Regions from separate parts of the Homo sapiens genome. Here region 2 is linked to region 1. Evidence: promoter capture Hi-C in 16 types of primary human blood cells and fetal thymus (Javierre and others, 2016). All regions are on one chromosome and are shown on one strand. Each heading gives the region's core, a stretch centred on a gene start or on the middle of the fragment in contact. The rest is flanking DNA. Distances are from core to core; before and after follow the strand shown. Region 1 holds the start of ARGLU1 (arginine and glutamate rich 1). Region 2 has its middle 900 kb from the start of DAOA.

Region 1 (7,242 bases), core at 2,606-5,105:
CTTCAATGCATCCTCAGAGATGATCCCTGGTAAATTAAGGGCTTTCATGCACTTTTTCCTTTTTTTTTTTTTTTTTTTTTTTCCTGGCAGCAGCCAAAAGACATGGCCAGAGCCTGAGCAGGGTAAATATCATCTTTTTTTTTTTAGACAGAGTCTTGCTCTGTCACTTAGGCTAGAGTGCAGTAGCCCGATCTTAGCTCACTGCAACCTCTGCCTCCTGGGTTCAAGCAATTCTCTGCCTCAGCCTCCTGAGTAGCTGGGATTACAGGCACCCGCCACCACGCCTGGCTAACTTTTGTATTTTTAGTAGAGACGGGGTTTCACCATCTTGACCAGGCTGGTCTTGAACTCTTGACTTTGTGATCCACCCGCCTCAGCCTCCCAAAGTGCTGGGATTACAGGCATGAGCCACCACGCCCGCCCCAATATCATCCTCTTTTAAAAGCTCCATAATCCCCTATACCTCTACATCCAATCTCCAGTGGTCTTATAAGAAGAGGACAGACGTACAGTAAAGATGGAGACAGGGACTAAAAGCCAAGGAATGCCAGCAAGCACCAGGAGCTAAGTGAGAGGCAGTGAACAGATTCTTCTCCAGAGCCTCCAAAGGAACCAACTTTGCTGACATTTGATTTTGGACTGCTGGACTCCAGAACTGTAAGTGAATACATTTCTGTTCATTTAAGACATCAGTCTGTGGTAATTTGTCGGGGCAGCTCTAGAAAATTTATACACTAACTCATTGGAAATAACTATCTTTATCATTAAACAGACATCATTCTGGATTATATATATATGTAATATACATATATATAAACAAAATTCCAGATATATCTATACATCATATCATATATTCACACCATATATGGATATATAAACCATATATATCATTCCCACTGGATAGATAGGTACAGATACGTACAGACAGATGGTTAGATTGACAGAAATATTTCTACTATAATGGGGGTAATTCTATACATTCTATATTAAATGTGATTTTACTTGAACGTATCTGAAGTAAAAGAATAGATCTATCCTTCTATTGCACTGTTTTCCTATTTCTGTCCTAAAATCTTGTTGTTCAGTTTATTCAATTTTGTGTAGGGCAAACAGGTACTGTTTGCTACGGTCTAAATGTTTGTGTGCCCTCCCAAACCCAGATGTTGAAATCTAATCACCAATGTAATGGTATTAGGAGGTGGGGCTGCTGGAAGATGACGGTATTAGGAGGTGGAGCCGCTGGAACACGATGGTATTAGGAGGTGGGGCTGATAGGAGACAAAGGTATTAGGAGGTGGGGCTGCTGGAACATTATGGTATGAGGAGGTGGGGCTGCTGGGAGATGACGGTATGAGGAGGTGGGGCTGCTGGGAGATGACGGTATGAGGAGGTGGGGCTGCTGGGACATGATGGTATGAGGAAGTGGAGCTGCTGGGACAGGATGGTATTAGGAGGCGGGGCTGCCGGGAGACGATGGTATTAGGAGGCGGGGCTGCCGGGAGACGATGGTATTAGGAGGCGGGGCAGCTGGGAGACGATGGTATTAGGAGGTGAGGCTGCTGGCTCTGCCCTCATGAATTGGATTAGTTCCTATCTTAGTCCATTCAGCCTACTATAAGACTACCTCAGACTGGGTCATTTATAAACAGCAGAAATTTATCGCTCAGAGTTCTGGAAGCTGGGAGTCCAAGATTAAGGCACTGGCAGATTCAGTGTCTGGTGAGGCCTCACTCTCTGCTTCATAGATGACACCTTTTTCTATGTCTTCACATGGTAAAGAACGGGTGAACAAGCTTCCTTGGGCCCCTTTTATAAGGGCATTGCTATGGCTTAAATGTATGTGTCTCTCTAGAATTCCTATGTTGGAGCCTAAAATCCACTATAATAACATTAAGAGCTGAAGCCGTTTTGGAAGTGATTAAGAAATGAGGCTCCACCCTCTTGAATGGGAATAGTATCCTTACAAAAGAGGTTGACAGGAGTGTCCTAGTTCCCCCCCCTTTTTTTTTGCCCTTTTGCCTCCCATCCCTTCCCTCATGTGAGGACACAGTGTTCGTCCCCTTCTGTGGACCCAGCAAAACAAGGCACTATCTTGGAAGCAGATAGCAAGCTCTTATCAGACACTGACTCTGCTGGTACCTTTATCTTGGACTTCTTAGCCTTCAGAACTCTGAGAAATAATGTCTATTATTTATAAATCACTCAGTCTAAAGTATTCTGTTATAGCAGTGGAAATGGGCTGAGATAGGCACTAATTCCAGTTATGAGGTTAGAGCCCTCATGACCTAATCAATATCCCAAAGCCCCACCTTTTAATACTATTGCACTGGTGATTAGGTTTCAACATATGAATCTGAGGGAACACAAACTTTCAGACCCTAGAAGTGCCACTAAAAGAGAGCTCAGAGAGCTAGCTTTCCCCTTCTATCATGTGAGGGCACTGTGAGTAGGTGCCTTCTGTGAGTCATCTGTGAATCTCTGGGTCCTCACCAGCGACCAGATTGGCTAGCACCTGGATCCTGGATTTCCAACTTTCAGAACTGTGAGAAATAAATTTGTTGTTCATAAGCTGCCTAGTTTATGATATTTTGTTACAGCAGTCAACACAGACTAATACACTACTCTTCTTTGTTTCCAAGTTTTCTTGATAATTAATTATGTGATCTTCCATATAAAACTTAAAATTAATTAGTTCTAAAACACATATCCCCAAGAGAATTTGGGACTCTCATGAGAATTGCACTAATTTTGTAATTTGACTTGGGAAGAATTGACAGTATTTTTGATACTGACTACTCACCTAAGAATACAGCATGTTTTACATTTACTAGGGCCTTATTACTGCCTTTTCAGTAAAGGTTTATAATAAAGATTGTGTAACTTGTTAAAGTTTATCCCTAAGTATTTTATGGTTTCTGTTGCCATTGTGGAGGAAATATTATTTCATTTTTAATATGTTTTTGCTTATTCAAATAATTCTAATTTTTCTTCTACTTACTTAAGCTTTATTATTGCACTCAATTTTAAAATTGAGGCACCTAGATTTTCAAGGGTTCCTGTCATCTGCAAATATTAACATTGCCTTTTCCTTTTAGGTCTTAACAATGACACAGTTTGTTGTGCCACATAGGGACGAAGCTTTTCGTGGCTAGGGTTGAGGAGGGCTTGCTGGTTATGTGCAAGGGCTTTGCACAATATGATCTAGGTTCACGTCCCTGCTCTGTCACCTACTGGTTGTGTGACCCTTATTTAACCTCTGTGGACCTCAGGGTCCTCATCTCTGAAACGTGGATAATAGTAGTACTTAATTCAGAATTGTAAGAATTAAGCACTTGTTAATACATTAAAGCATTTAGAAGGCACATTAAGCCCTATAGTAAGCATTAGGTTACATTCATCAAAACCTGCTGCCTACTTACCTCCTGCAAGTCTCATAAGCACTTCAGAAAGTGTGGTGTCTCCATTCTACGAATGAGGAAACTAAGTCCAAGGCAGCAAGTGATGAGTGCAGGGTCACTTGGAGATACATTTTAGGGCTGCCCCACAAGACCAGCTCCTAGAAAATAATGCAATCAATCAACTTCTGCGAGGCCGGACTTAAATCCCACTAAAACGTGCTTAATTCATTCAACAGGCGTTGGCATCTTACCAGGGAGGAAAAAAAAAAAAAGAGTACGCCAAGGCGAAAAGGAGAGTCTCCATCTATTGCGTCTCAGGCTTCCGCCAAGACTGGCGGAAAAAAACGAGTCCGCTCCGAAGCGCTCGCCTGCCTTCGGCAAAAATCGTCAGGAGGCGGGGCCCACGCTTCGGCACGTTTCGCGCAGGGCATTGTGGGAAGGGCGGCCGGTGCAGCCGCAGCTGCCATCTTAGGGGCGCCTGGCGCTACGGGTTTCTCGTTGGAGGCGGCCTTCGTGGCAGCTGTAGACGCCGGGAAAAGGCATAAAGTCCGTTGGCCGACACCTTTCTTTCCTCCGGCCTCGGTAGAACCGCCAGCCCGCGTCCGAAGGCGGAGGCGAGGGGAACTGGCCGCGTGAGGGGCCTGAGGCGAGCGGTTAGAGCGTCTCCCGGAAGGATGGGCCGGTCTCGGAGCCGGAGCTCGTCCCGCTCCAAGCACACCAAGAGCAGCAAGCACAACAAGAAGCGCAGCCGGTCCCGGTCGCGATCCCGGGACAAGGAGCGCGTGCGGAAGCGTTCCAAATCTCGGGAAAGTAAACGGAACCGGCGGCGGGAGTCGCGGTCCCGTTCGCGCTCCACCAACACGGCCGTGTCCCGGCGCGAGCGGGACCGGGAGCGCGCCTCGTCCCCGCCCGACCGCATCGACATCTTCGGGCGCACGGTGAGCAAGCGCAGCAGCCTGGACGAGAAGCAGAAGCGAGAGGAGGAGGAGAAGAAAGCGGAGTTCGAGCGGCAGCGAAAAATGTGAGTGCCCGCGCGGGGAGGGACCGGGGCGTGCGGAGAGCAGGGCGCGGGGCGAGGGCGTGGGGCCGGGGCGGGACGGTGCGGGCCGGGAGAATGGCGGGGACGGTCCGGGGCTGGGGACCGGGCGCGGGAACGGGTCGGAGAGGCGGCGGCGGGGCGGGCAGGCTTGGCGTTTGGAAAGCTTGGGGTGGGACAGACCCAGAAGTTGTTCGGGATGGAAAATTCGAGGGCTTGAGCAGAAAGGGTTTAAGAGAAGGCGATTTTGGCGCGAGAGAGGAGTGGTGTCCCGGAAGTAGGGGTGGAGTTCGGAGTGAGGTCGGAGAGCTGCGTTGGCTTGTGAGGCCGGGAGCGAGCCGGCCTGCAGATGTGGAGGGTGGTGAGCGTTTGCTGGTCGGCTTGAGGAGGAGAGAGAAGGGAATTAACCTTTGAGATGCGAATCACAGCTGGCCAGAAGCATTCTATTGAAGCTCAAATTTGGGACAGGACTTAACTAATCTCGGGAATCATACACTTTAGGTGGTCCGCCAGAAAAATGCATTTTCACTTTAGTGTATTCCTGTTGTTAAGGTGTTGGGATTGCTTTTTTCCCCTTGAGCCTACACCCTCACCCCTTCCTTGAGATGTTAAAAAAAAAAAGCATAGACCTTAAGTGTACAGTGCGATGAGTTTTTTGACCTTTGAATTCACCTGTGTAATCACCATCCCAAAGCCTACCGCTTTTTTAACTTGCTTTCTATTCCTGTAGCAAACACGTGCAGTTTTGTTGTTTCCCTTACACTGTGCTTCTTCAGAAGACACTTGAAGGGTTGATTTTATTTTGGCGTTGCTCCCATGAAGGATATTTAGTGAAAACTAGAGTTAGAGTGTGTTTCCGAAAATGTCAGCTCTCAAGTATTTCTGGCTATGAAAGTAGATGTGGATAAATAATCCCAAACTAAAGGAATTTTTGGGTTTTAAAATTTAGGGATTTGTTGTGTGTTTTGCTTTATGATCATCGTACTTTGATGCTCTGGGTATTCAGTTTCCAAAAACCGCATTGAAAAGTAGATTTGAACAGTCCTACTAACTCCCTATTGAACCAGCCGTACTTGGTCAGTTCTTCAGTGAATATTTAGAAAGTGCTCATGAAGCAAGAACGTTACTGAATTTATGATTTTCTCGAGGCGAGTATATGTGTGCTGAATTGACTGCGTGGTTTGTAGTTTTCTGTAGTTGGGTTTGTGTTAGGTAGATTTTCCAGCACACACACACAGCTTGTTTCTAAAACCAAAGTTACTAAAAGGTAGGACTGGAGCACTAATATTACAGAGGAAGCTGTACCTGGAGCTGTTTTGCTTCCAACACTCCTTTAAAACACATGCAACACTCATTTTTCCTGTACTTAGAACTGTCAGTGATACATATGAAAACAAAGTTCAAGTAATCGTTTCAAATTAAACCTTGATTTTGTAGAATACAACTTTTGGGTCTGCAACAAGGCCCTTAGCTGTAAAGATCTCAAATAGCTATCAACAGATGGATGTATGAAAAGTTACCTAAGACATTGCTGAGATAATTTCTACATGTGAAAACAAAGGAGACCTCCAAAGAGTAATAACTTGCCTTTCACTAGAAAGCTAAGATATGTAGGAAAAATGAAAAGAAACTTGGTATGCAAAGAATAAATAGAAGCATTTAGCAGGTTTCGCATGTATAGCAGACAAGAAATTCAGGAATGAAATACGGCAAATAGAGGAGCTATATGGTTCTCTGGTTTGAGAGAAGACACAAACTGCCAATAGTATTTAGGAGGGAGAAGGGACCAGGACTAGCAGCCACCTGTACTCTAAATTCCTGGGTGCCGTACAATAGGCATTTTATTTAATATATTCTAATGTCTTGGAAACAATGCAAAAGAAACAATGGAAAGACTTAAGTGTTGGAGCTTTGGCAGTGTAAGGAAACAGTTTGCAGTCTACATATCCTGTTGGTTATTTTATTCATTTAACTGATGTTTATTGAGCATTTAATAAGTGCCAGGCACTGTGCTAGGTACTGTTAATATAAAGATGATTGGCCCTTCTCCAAGAGCTTGATCTAGCTCAAAGACAGATCATTAAATAGGCAATAATACAGTGTAGTAAATTTAGTGACAGTAATATAAACTGTATAAAGGAAGTATCCTGTGTGGGTGGAGGATATAAGAATATGACAATGTCAGGCAAGGTATAGGACATATGTGGAGCACAGAAAAGAGCCTCCTCCCCCGACTCCTGCCAAAATAGAGGAAATGGTCTTAAAAGTGGAATGATCAGGTGACTGTTGACTTAGAACACGAAGTTCTATAAATATTTAAGTCATGGAGTGACTGGAGAGGTAAATAGAGGCTGGGAATCATGTTAGGGTTATTGTATGTCATATTAAAGAGCTTGGATTGCATCCTAGAAACGGGAAGGATTTTAAGCAGGTGAATGACATGGTGCCTTTTTTGTTTTGATTGTTGTGTAGGATGGAAACTAAGAGGTGGGTACAGAAGTTTACACAGGAGTAGTGAGGATGGTTGTTGGAATGGAAAAGAGGGACAGATTTAAGAAACATTCAGGGTATATTAAATGGAATGTGGGACTTCAGAAAAAGAATGTTGGTTCTCATGTTTATAGTGTGGCTGTTGCAACTCATCTACCAAATGTTTCAGTAACAACCATGTGGCAGGTACTGGTAAAAATGTCAGAAACTTTTTAAATAGTGGATAAGGGAGAGGGAAAGGGGATAAGAGAATGGTGCCTTCACTGTGAGCACTAGTTTTGGATATACTGTACTGAGTTTATCCAGACTTGATCATGT
Region 2 (6,910 bases), core at 436-2,935, 2.0 Mb after region 1:
TTCACAAGAGCCAGTCTTTCATAGTCTATGTCCATCGCTTACAAACTTCCCATTCCAACTTCCTATTTTCAACAATATGTCACATTCTGTTTACTTTCTAAAACAAAACACCAAAACCAAAAAGACAAAACAAATGAAAACACTCTTTCTCTTTTTTACTAGTGCAACTTCAAATCAAGTCTTTTATCCTTAAACCTGAAATATCCCACTAGACTTCCAACTCTCACACCTATCTCTAGATTCTTTCCTCTGTTGTCTTATTCACTATTAATTCATGTGCTTACTGCAATGTCTGAAACATAGTAGGGGAAAAATAACTATTTTCTTAACATATCATGTGATTTTGCATACCGTTGCCTGGCTAATTTACCAGAATTTCCCTATTAAAAGTGTAGGGCTTAAAAACCTTTCATTATTGCCCACGGTAGATATAGTATACTTTTTAAAAATCTTTAATTGTTACTGTCTCTTCTCTTGTCTTGTCAATCTGGCCTCAGTGTACCTTTCTCCTCCTTCGTACACATGCCCTCAAGCCTAGTTTCTGTAGCTATCGTGGATGATGTCAGCTTTGTGCCTGAGGAATGCCCTCCCTACCCTACCCAGCCTGGGTCTGGTCTTATCACCTCCATCAAAACAACCTGCTGCAATGATGTCTCAGCTCAGCTCACTGCAGCTGAATTCATTCTCTCCACACCCTTCTCCACAACTGGCTTCCTCGCCTCTATCTCCTTCCTCAACGATGATACCACTCCCTCTCAATCAAAAGACAAGGAGTGGGCTCATTTCATTTCTCCCCATCTGCCCAAATCCAATCATTCACTAATGCAGCTATGCTGTTTTGACTTCCTTAAATTCCACTTTTGACAAATTTTACATTAATTCCCCTCTCACTTCAGGGACTAGACTGCTGCCTGGAAGATCACTCTGCCCATCAGCTTTGCTCACTCAGGGCCTTTTCCTCCACAGCCTGGCACTATGTGGAGCCCTGTGAAGTGACAGTAAGAAAAAGAATCATAGCTCTGCCCATCAAAACCATAAAAGCTTTCATCAAGGAAGACAACCAGGTTTACTAGTGAATGCTATTCAGGGCCTATCCAACAACAATCATCTAAGTTTTCTTCCGTCCTAACAGAGTCCTAATTTTTCTCAATCAAAGTACCCTTCATGCCAATCATGTCATTTTCTACATCTAGGTGGAGCGTCGATATTCATCAATTTATATGTTGAATGTTTTCTTCAGTTCATAATACATTTCTAAATGACAATTTTTGTGTAGGCTATGATTACAATTTTAACACCTGGAGGCAAAGGTATTATGATATAATGAAAAAGAGGGAATTGGAAACGCCTCCTCTGCCTCAGGAGAATTTTTAGTTAGATTGCACACCCCAAAAGGTGTATAACTCACATAAAGCTAATCAGTGACTTATAAAAATTAGATAGATCTCATGATTTTTTTTACCCTGAAATATTTTAGCAAGCAATTGTCAATATATTTTCTGCCAACTGGTTTCTTTCTTCTTTTTAAACAAACTATTTGATAGAGAAAAGGTTTTTCACACATTTAGGAAAAAAAATCTAAAAGATAGGAAAAATTATTCATTTTTGCTTACTCCAACATCCCCTGAAAAGATATGGCTAGGAATTAGGTGACAGCATTATTTTTAAAACACAAAAGAATAAGAGAACGAGAGATCTCAAATCAGGAGTTCAGATGCTGAATTTGGCAACCTGAGATAAGCAATTTAAATACGAGGAGAGTGACAGTGTGCAGTCTATTCAAAAACTTGCCGATATAAACAAACAAAACATTTCTTCCTTAATCCTAAACAAGGTGCAGAGTTTGTATTTGACAAATATGCTATAAACTGATGGAGTTCATCAAATATTTAAGTCCTACCTGAGCCATTAAAAGTCAAGCAAACAAAATATTTGTCAGTCGTTCAGAACAGAGAGGCATTTATGTATAAAATAGAATCTTATTTCTCTTAGAGCTTTTTTTGTTTGTTTTTTGTTTGTTTGTTTGTTTGTTTGTTTGTTTTTAGACGGAGTCTCGCTCTGTCACCCAGGCTGGAGTGCAATGGCGCGATCTCGGCTCACTACAACCTCCGCCCCCAGGTGCAAGTGATTCTCCTGCCTCAGCCTCCCGAGTAGGTGGGATTACAGGTACCCACCACCATGCCTGGCTAATTTTTGTATTTTTAGTAGAGATGGGGTTTCACCATGTTGGTCAGGCTAGTCTCAAACTCCTGACCTCAGGTGATCCGCCCGCCTTGGCCTCCCAAAGTGCTAGGATTACAGGCGTGATCCAGCTCTCCCAGAAGCTTTTGCAATTTTTAATACTAAGTTTGATCAGGGCATCAAAACACATAGGAGGCCTCCTTTTAGTTTACAAAGAAGAGACATTGTCATATATGTCACCTAAAGCAGTGGTTCCCAACCCCTGGGCTGTGGACGAGTACCAGTCTGTGGCCTGTTAGAAACTGGGGCGCACAGCAGGAGGTGAGCAGTGGGCAAGTGAGCATGACTGCCTGAGCTCGGCCTCCTGCCAGATCAGCGGGCATTAGCTTCTCATAGGAGCAGGAATCCTATTGTGAACTGTGCAGGGGAGGAATATAGGTTGTGGGCTCCTTATGAGAATGTAATGCCCAGTGATCTGAGGTGGAACAGTTTCATCTTGAAATCATCCCTTCCCATTCCTCCTCACTGATGGAAAAACTGTCTTCCATGAAACTGGTCCCTGGTGCCAAAAACGTTGGGGACCACTGCCCTAAAGCACTGTGCTCCGTGACTCTGTATATGTGTGTGACTGTGAGCCTGTGTGTGTGTGAGCATATGAGTGTGAGCCTGTGTGTGTGTCTTTGAGCGTGTGTGTCTTTGAGCATGTGTGTGTAGGTGTAAGCCCATGTGCAAGCTTGTATGAACCTGTGTGTGTGAGCATGTGTGAGACTGTAAGTGTGAGCCTTTGTGTGAGTCTGTGAGCATGTGTGTGTGTTCAAGTATGGGTCCATGTGGCCATGAGCATGTGTGTGAGTGTGCAAGTGTAACCTCATGTGCAAGCCTGTGTGATCCTGTGTGTGAGCATGTGTGTGTGTAAGCCTGTGTGTGTGAGCCTGTGTGTGCATGCGTGTCTGTGAGGATGTGCGTGAACCTGTGTGCCTGTGTGTGAGCATGTGTGTGTGTGAGAGCACGCATGTGGGTGTGTGAGCTTGTGTGTGGTGTGTGTGAGCATGTTTGTGTATAAATTTGAGCCTGTGAGTATGTGTGAACGTGTGTCTGTGAGCCTGTGTGTAAGCCTGTGTGAGTATGAGTGTTAGCCTGTGTGTGATCATGTGTGTGTGAGTGTGAGCCTGTGTGTGAGCATGTGTGTGAGTCCATGTGTGGTGAGACTTTTTAACAGTGTATAGGTATTTAAGAGATTGTTTTCTGAGGCCAGAGCTCAGTAACAACAGATGGTTGGTAACTGCTGAGACAGGAGACGCTAATAGACATGACCAAAGCAGAAATAAGCAGAGGATCAGCCCAGCTTGGCTATGGCTGTGAACACTATCATCACTCTTACTGTATGGTGACCTCCCATTAGGAATGGTCAGAGAGTAGAATAAATTCGAATCTTTGTCCCATTTCTGTCACCTTCAGCAGCTTTCATGGGGTTGGTATCACTTACCCTGAGCTCTGGGTGGTGCCACAAGAGTTTTGGACGAGGTGACTGTTTTCAGCACTGTTGGAACCCACTACTGTGCTCCCTTTTTATATGTCATCATTTAATTGGTGCTGTGTCAAATGCCAAGGAAGAGGTTGTACAGAGAAGATAAGTGGAAATGTAGAGACCTGGGCTCCGGCCTCAATCTGGATGTGCATTAATTGTGGGGCTTTGTCTCTTTTATGGAATCACAGCATTTTAAACTAGTGGCATTTATAAGATGATTCTTTTTCTCTAACTTCAACATTTTTCAAATAAGTAATGGATACACATTGCTTGCTGTTGGATATTCAGAAAAAAAAAGAAAAGAAATGAATACCCAGGGAGGCTGAGTGACATAGCCCAGCTCGCCCATCTTGTGTGCAGTGGAACCTGGTTCTGTCTCCCCAAGTAAGTAGGTTGGAACAGAAGCGGGGCACTTACCTGGCTCTGGGTCCCTGTCCCTGGGAACCATGACTGTGAATAGCATAGCCACACGTATCAATTTACAGCAGTGTGTAATAGCCAAATGTAACAGAGTTCCTTTGAAAGCTCTCATCCAAGAGAGGCAGTTAGAAAAAGCAAAGCATGGTTTGAGGAATCAAGATGATGGCACAAACAGAAATTAAAACATCAAAAAATGTGAAGAGTTGACATTAGAAAACTGATGTACATTAGAAATAATAAGACTTGTGTTGGGCATCTTGCATAGTTATTATGAGATAAAATTAAGTCACACTTAGGAATACTTTTTGAAATTAAAAATGTATGCAAGTAAAAGCATTACTATTAATACTGAAAAAATGCAAATTTTTAATTATAAAATATCTATGTACAAATTGTACATTCCCTTAAATACTTACTTTAAATTGGTAAAATGCCTTTAAATACAGAATCACACTGCTATGGATGAAGTTCTTAAATTTTACATTACTTTATCTTTTCCTTCCAGTTTGATGCCCTTAAAAAGAGAAAAGCCCAGAAGAATCTCATAATACATAGGAGTCTATATTAGAAACTGCAAGGATAAAGAAACTTGGTTTTATATACAATGGTATTTTTCACATTATTTCTGTATCACACCAAGAAGATTTTATATCAACATTTATTTAACATGCTATTCTCTATCTAAAATATTTGGATGTAAAAATGGGTTAATTCAAATATAATTCCCATCACAGCTCTTTTACAAAAATGTGAAACAGAAGCAGCACTTGAGCAACAAAAACTACATTCTAAGAAAACATATTTGTAAAAGTACTAGCAGAAAAGAAAGAGATTGATGCCTATAGTGAAATAAGTATGGAAAAAATTATTCTTAATGAGATCATCATGCTCTTTGGCATACACACGCATGCTACGTATTAATTCTGAGGCCTATAATACAAGGCTTTTTTTTCTGTTTTTTTTTTTTCTTTTTTAAGAGAAAATATTGAGGGCATATTGAACCGCTACTCCTCTTTCCTGTGCCTTTGTCCTTCCCTAATGGTAAAAGTTGGCTAAGTATGGATTAAGTGCTTGAAGAAAGTGGTACACTTAAATCCAGCATTCCTATTACTGAGAGATCTTATATCAGTTAAGCATCTTCTTTCATGAATTACAAGAGGAAAATAAGTAGATAATATTCACAGTGATTTAGGATAGATTAGAAATTCCTCTTACTAGCTTATGGATAAATTCATGTGAAGAGCAAATCATTATATAACAAGGAGGTTTAGTCTGGAGAGAAGATGTAAAGGCCAAATGAGTGGCTCTGTCACTGGTTGCAGCCATTTGTACTGCTGAGACCTCCCAGAGAGGAGGGCAGAGGGATTCACAGAGTCATTTCCCATCCCAAGAGAAATAGCCTTGCTTCTCATACTATCCTCTTATTTTTCCTTCAAAAAAAAAGAAAAGAAAAGAAAAGCAATATGTAGCATTATATAAGCTGTACATCTTCTTTCAGGATGCAAATGATTGCCACTATTTAAAAATATTATCTAATATTGCTCGAGTCTCAATCATATCACCTCAAATTACTGAGTAGGCATCACAAGTCAAATACCAGCCTATGCATGTGGCATGAACCATCTCAATTGTCCTGCATTAAAAACTTCAGCACCAGGCAATCTTATTATCACCTTTTTACAAATGAAGAAATTGAGGCTTAGAGAGATCCACTAGCTATAGCCAACACAAAGCCAGGATTTTAACCTAAGTTGTCTATAAGTGAAGCCCTGTCAACTAACCATTAGGTCCAATACTGAAATTTATTTTCACTCTTTCACTTCATGGTAAGCTGGTGTTAATGAGAAGACCATATACAGTACAATATTGTGATTCATAAAGTCTTCATTTGCCATTTCACTTGAATTCACAATGAATAAAAGTAATTTAAGGTTAATGTAAGAAAAAACTACAAAAGATGATATTTTCTCAAGGAAATTCTATAAAATGAGCTTAAAAAACACCCATTTTAAGCAAGTACACTGGTATTCTTTCAATAAATGGGTGATTCTTAAGTGGTTATGTCAGCTGATTTAAATAGTTTTATGGGAAGCCAAGGCAGGTGGATCACAACGTCAGGAGTTCAAGACCAGCCTGGCCAAGACAGTGAAACCCCGTCTCTACCAAAAATACAAAAAACAATTAGCTGGGTGTGGTGGCTGGCACCTGTAATCCCAGCTACTCGGGAGGCTGAGGCAGAGAATTGCTTGAACATGGGAGGCGGAGCTTGCAGTGAGCCCAGATCGCGCCACTTCACTTCAGCCTGGGTGACCGAGTGAGACTCCGTCTCAAAAAAAAAAAAAAAATTGTTTTATAATAAAATCAAGTCTCTAATACCTGGAATCTGATTACATCTACTCAAGTATAAGCTGTAAATTATACTAGGCAATTGTATATAAAGGTACAGCTTGTATACAACACAAGGCTTTTGCACTTCTAGGCTGAAATCTACCTGTTACTATGGTCTCCAAGTCTTATGACCAAAGGTCTAAATTCATCCCAAAAAGGTACCTTTGTTTTTTTGCAGGAGTTCTGGGTTGGCTAGTACTATCCTGAAGTCACAAACAGGCAAAGCTGCCTGAGTTGCAAAGTGTACAGATGGTTGGTGATAATACTCAAGAAGGCTCTCTAATCAGCTTTTTAGTGGGCCAGTTTCACAAGTATTATCAGCACAAATAAATGACTAGGTTAGTAAAATTAGAGAGAAAAAAATTCACACTGAAGCAAATGCATTTATAAAAT

What was found. The method cuts DNA at HindIII sites, captures the fragments that hold promoters and counts their contacts. A CHiCAGO score of 5 or more calls a contact.
Region 2: a contact is called between a fragment that was not itself captured here and the fragment with the promoter of ARGLU1 in region 1, in 1 of 17 cell types (fetal thymus). The highest score is 5.4, in fetal thymus.

What each region holds. Positions count from the first base shown.
Region 1 is chr13:106,564,750-106,571,991 of GRCh38, reverse strand. ARGLU1 (arginine and glutamate rich 1) reads left to right here and starts at 3,855. Exons shown (of 4, transcript NM_018011.4): 1 at 3,855-4,419. The coding sequence starts at 4,073. RefSeq lists enhancers at 3,714-3,783, 3,794-3,913, 3,589-4,499 and a silencer at 4,394-4,693. The HindIII fragment of the contact is 1,462 bases long and covers 3,141-4,602 here.
Region 2 is chr13:104,561,019-104,567,928 of GRCh38, reverse strand. No RefSeq gene overlaps it. Among named protein-coding and RNA genes, the nearest start is that of DAOA, 900 kb to the left of the region's middle. The HindIII fragment of the contact is 1,283 bases long and covers 1,044-2,326 here.